2 separate regions of the Homo sapiens genome follow, and region 1 is linked to region 2. The links are contacts of gene promoters, found by promoter capture Hi-C in human tissues and cell types (Jung and others, 2019). All regions are on one chromosome and are shown on one strand. The core of a region is centred on a gene start or on the middle of the fragment in contact, and the rest is flanking DNA. Distances in the headings are between cores, read along the strand shown. Region 1 overlaps CCDC80 (coiled-coil domain containing 80). Region 2 holds the start of SLC9C1 (solute carrier family 9 member C1).

Evidence for each region. Contacts are between HindIII fragments. The study calls those that stand out against the background at their distance.
Region 1: a fragment that was not itself captured here is called in contact with the fragment with the promoter of SLC9C1 in region 2 in 2 of the 25 tissues and cell types used here (H1 embryonic stem cells and thymus).

The regions. Positions count from the first base shown.
Region 1 is chr3:112,629,326-112,632,025 of GRCh38, reverse strand. It overlaps CCDC80 (coiled-coil domain containing 80), which reads left to right. Exons shown (of 8, transcript NM_199511.3): 3 at 1,757-1,913. Among named protein-coding and RNA genes, the nearest start is that of CCDC80, 10 kb to the left of the region's middle. The HindIII fragment of the contact is 4,136 bases long and covers 1-2,700 here.
Region 2 is chr3:112,292,890-112,295,589 of GRCh38, reverse strand. SLC9C1 (solute carrier family 9 member C1) reads left to right here and starts at 1,374. Exons shown (of 29, transcript NM_183061.3): 1 at 1,374-1,497. The HindIII fragment of the contact is 5,534 bases long and covers 1-2,700 here.

The sequences.
Region 1 (2,700 bases), core at 22-2,521, 340 kb before region 2:
TTTCCCCTTAAAAAATTATGTTCCTAAAACAAGCATTTCCTACCCAGAATGTCCGTATGAGCAGGCATAGAAACACATGAAAAATAAACTAAAGCATGTCTATTTAAAATTAATTATGATCTGAAAAACAAAACAAAACAAAACAAAAACTTCATCCCAGAAAACCTTTGTTAACGTTCCATTCAAAGGCTATTGAACACGTTTAATTTCCTTGAGGGAGAGTATTTTGTCATGCGGGGAGAATTCTTAGAAGGGAAAGCCTGCAGGTAGCAATACAGACATCTCTGACAGAGAAAAATAAACAGCAGGATCAAGCTGAGACCAGATTTATTAACCATTTTTGATAAAATATTTGGAAGAGGTACACAGCCTGGTGATTTGCCCTCTGAAAAATGCCAAGGTAATAGTCATAAATATCGGAAATAGTTTATAAGTTTAGGCGGATAAATAGAAAGTTGGTTGATACATTTGAATGTAGTCAAATGCAAGAAAATTGGCTGATAAATTTGTATTTAGTCAAATGCAAAAAGTTGTTTACAGAAAAATGATTTATAGAGGTTTGCTTCTGAGCTTAGTGATGATGCAACAAAGGGCAAATAGACAGCGTTCATTGCAGACATCAGCCTGGTGATCTATTTGGGATCAAGGATCTCAACAAAGACCTGGTCATCATCACAATAAAATTTCACATCCTCCCACCTCCAAGGTAAGCAGCATTATGCCCACTAGCTTGTGGGATGTGGAACAGAGTTCTAGCTTCAGCTCAAGGATTGAGTAAAATTGGTAAAATTGGAGAAGGCTCAGGGAAGGGCAGCTAAATTAATCAAGAGAGTAGAGAAGCTTTTGTATTAGGTTAGATAAAAATAGTGAGACGTTCTCAGAGAAAAGATTCAAGAGGACCTCTTAAAAGTAGGGTTATCCTTACTGTATCCAAAATAAATTACATTTTCTCAGATTTCTGGTGACTAAAGTATTTCTTTTGATTGCTTTGTCTTTCCTCTTTTTTTTTTCCCCCAGAAGACAGGGGTCATAGGATGAGGATGAAAGACAGAGGGCTAGGTGAAAAATACCAGGTCTGAACCAAAGAGAGGGCTAAACTTAGAGTAAAAAACATCCTGTTGGAAAACTGCAATATCAAAAGACAAACACCACCAACTCTGTGCAGGCTGAATGTGACAGTGAATATATTCTATGTGACAAAACGTAGGCCTAAAAGTCATCATAAAACCTTTCTGCAAGGTTTTCTAATAAGAGTTCTAAATCACAGAATGTTTCGTAGTGCCCAGGGCCTGGCTATGAAACTCTCTTAACCCTGTGAAATGTGAATAATAGTAGTAACCACTGTATTAACCAATATCTAATCAGCCAGTGAGAATAATGAAGATCAAAATTAGGGAAGGAAAATAACATTTATTGAACAATTATTGCATGCCAAGTATTCATGTAATGTTCACAGCAGCCTTGCAAAATAAATATTCCTTTGCAGAGTTCACAAATAAGAAAAGTGAGACATGTGGAGGCTAGTAATGGAGGTAAATAATGGAAGTGAGTAGAAAACTCCAAGCTGTCTTGGAGACAAAAAGAGGCCTTTTCAAATGGCCCTTTTTGGTCCTAATTATGCTAACTGTTCAGCAGAACATTTGTAGCTTAGATGCAGTCACTACCAGCCCTCTCTTCCAAATCATCTCTTTGGGTTTTGCTTCAGTGTGAAACTATCACTATAAATGAGTATTTGTTTGTCTTCACCCACCTCCAGCTGATCACTGCTCCCAAGGCTGAGAACAATATGTATGTGCAACAACGTGATGAATATCTGGAAAGTTTCTGCAAGATGGCTACCAGGAAAATCTCTGTGATCACCATCTTCGGCCCTGTCAACAACAGCACCATGAAAATCGACCACTTTCAGCTAGGTTCTCTTAAACATTTTAATTATATTATTGTTTTTCTCATATCTAAGGTGGGACAAACTTTATGGTAGAGGTACATGGGGGATCCAAAAGAAAATGAAGATGTTCAGAGGGCTCTTTGGTTGTGATAACACAGGTCAGTTTGCCTGCTTATTTAAATAGCCATTCCAGGATGGTTCTCGTTTAAGTTTTAAGCACTGTAAAAAAGAAAAATACGCAAACACTCTATTGTCTGAAAGTCAGTAAGGTGGAAGAAAATGGGAAAAGTAACACAGTGTGGGAGAGAATCAGAGAGGCATTCAGACACTTTTTCTGGGTACTGAGTCTTCTCGCCTGTGAGCAGCCCCGTCTGATCTTCCTGCAGACTCTCCGCTGCAGGTGACTCATCACAGATGGGACTTGCCAGACTCTCGGAAGTACTTGACTCTGGCAAGCCTGAGGAAGGAATTAACCAGAACTGAGAGAAGCTGTTAAGATAAATGAAAAGTCACTGAAAATATGGACTGAACTGCACCCAAGTCCTTTTGGAGAGTAGAAGAATTTGGCTGAATTTAGAGTTTTCGCAATTTTACATATGAATGGTGCATGTGAGACTCATGAGGCGTACAGCCCAGTGTTGGACAGCTGAGATCTAACTCATTGCAGTTCTCCTGGGAACGTTGCAAGATTTACTGTGATTAGTTAAGCCTCATAGTCAGAAGCCCAAAATATGACCCACCCAGTTTATTTCATAATTATTGCATCTCTAGGGCTTTATTTTTTAAAAAGCTTTTTTTCTTATATGCACTTT
Region 2 (2,700 bases), core at 125-2,624:
TATATCCACACATGAACCACAACCCACACACAGATATGTGGCATGTATTTCCAACAATGAGAATCCTTTTTTTTTTTTTTTGAAACGGTGTCTCACCCTGTCTCCCAGGCTGGAGTGCAGTGGCGCAATCTCGGCTCACTGCAACCTCCATCTCCCGGGTTCAAGTGATTCTCCTTTCTTAGCCTCCCGGAGCTAGGACTATAGGCGCCTGCCACCATGCCCGGCTAATTTTTGTATTTTTAGTAGAGACGGGGTTTCACCTTGTTGGTCAGGCTGGTCTCGAACTCCTGACCTCAGGTGATCCACCTGCCTCGGCCTCCCAAAGTGCTGGGATTACAGGCATGAGCCACTGCACCTGGCCGAGAATAGATTTTTTAAAGACCCAAGAAAAGGGGCAGCCCAGCAAGACAGAAAATTTCACCAGTAACTGCTCTACTTTAACCAAACACCACAGAAAAGTGTTCACCCACTCCCTGTACCCACATACCAGCAAAGACTGAGTAGGAAGCTTAAACTTCACCCATACCATACAAGATGCCAGAACCCTGCCTGTTTCCCCACCCCAACCAGAGCAGTATCAGAAAAGGCCTTGTGGGAGCTGGAACTTCCATAACAACCAGGCCATAAAGATGCACCCCATGCCTCAGTTGGAGACCATGTAGGGAGCCTGGACTTCTGCTCCAACCCAGCCAAACAAGTTGCCTCCTGCCTTCTTCATCAGGGTAGTATCAGAGGAGGCCAAATGAAGAGTTGGGAATTTTACCACCATTCACTTATAAACGTGTGGGTCGGGAGAAAGAGATGAAACACAGAGAACAAAACATTAAATACAATTTTAAATAACTTTAAGATATTTTATGAGAGTAGGAATGTGAAAAGTTGGCTCTATAGTAATAACTAAGTAATTTCAATTAAAATATTTTTTACATATTATGTTTAGAAAAAACAAATGAGTATATCATTATTCCTGAAAATTTCCTCACATATAACCCAGAGTGAAAGTTCACCTTGTCATCTTGATTTCATTCTCTTACATGCCCACAATATCCATTCACTTTTTCCCTAACCCAGCAACCTGCGTCCTCATATCTCTACCACACTATCTTATCCAGGAAACTTCCTTTTACTAGAATTCTGGGAAAGCAGTGTCCAACAGCTCTTTGTCAGAAATCCACTGTCCCAAAGTCTTAAATTAACACAATGGCGCAATTTCTGTAGGTTCATTTTCACCCCTTATTTGTTTATTTTTAAAAAATAAAACAAAGCCTTAAGCCGTCAAATGCCTGAGATATACAGGAGCAATGACGTTGCATTTCATCAGCCAATCAAGTAAGAGATGATGGGCCTGAAGCTAACCGGTGCAGACTAGGGGCGAGTTTGGAGCAAGTAACTGTCAGTGAGGTTGCAGTTGGTCTGGGCTGTTTGGCTGTGAGCGAAATAGCTGCCCCCCACTTCTCACTTGCACACCACGGGATACTCCTCCTGAGGCTCCGGATGGTGAGCTCTCCAGTCTCTAGTTTCCTTTTCTGGAAGTTGACCTTTCCTACTGGTACTTTCTCTCTCAGTCTCGCCTCCTAGATGAACAAAGGCTCCCACTGTTTTCCTGCTAGAGATTCAGCCACTCCCTCTTGGCGCTTCTGCCTTTCTTGTGGCAGACCATGGAACACTTTCCCAAAGATCAGCTAGCTTCTCGGTTTGAACTTCTACCCCTTAGCTGCTTCCCCTCCTCCATTATGCTTTTTACATCAACTCTTTGTGAACTATCCAGTGGCATGTGTTCCCTTTGCGTTACTGAAACTGAAAAGTCCAGCCCTAGGGGAAAGCTCACTGGTTCAGGGAATCGCCTCAGGTGTGTGGAGCTGATCTTGAGCTGGAGGAAGGGCTCATTCTGAGTGGAGGGGCATTAGGAGGGCAATAGCCCACCCACCTTCAGAGTCAGTAAGATGTCTGCGTTGTGTGGTAGGAGAGTTTACTAAGGAGACAATCCAGCCTCTGGTATCAATATAAAATAAACCATTAAGCATGAGCTTTGTAGCTGTGAAGATTACTGAGATCCCACAGTGCCCTCTTCAGGATGCTTTCTTCACCTAATTCTTGCAAAACGTTCCAATCTGAAGGAAGAAGACTGTTTCCATGTTCAGTAACATGGTAAATTAGTGTGACTTACGGTTCATGAGACAAAATTTCTCAATGCTGGCTGACTGACAAGGACAAATTCATGTCATTTTTGAGAGGGCAGTCATTAATTTCCTCCACACACAAAGAGAATTGAGATATTAGCTAACATGAGAGATATATATATATATATATATTTGAAATAGAGTCTCACTCTGTCACCCAAGCTGGAGTGCAGTGGCACAATCTAGGCTCACTGCAATCTCTGCCTCTTCAATTGATTCTCCTGTCTCAGCCTCCCAAGTAGTTGGGATTACAGGCATGTGCCACCACACCTGGCTAATTTTTTTTTTTTTTTTTTTGTATTTTTAGTAGAGACAGTTTCACTATTTTGGCCAGGCTAGTCTCGAACTCCTGATCTCAAGTGATCCACCCGCCTAGGCCTCCCAAAGTGCTGGGATTACAGGCGTGAGCCACTGTGCTCAGTCAACTAACTTATTGTTAAATTAATGCAGAGGACCTATGTGATAAACCAATATTTTTTTCTTTAATGGGATTTGGACTCACAGACTTTTACAAAGCTGT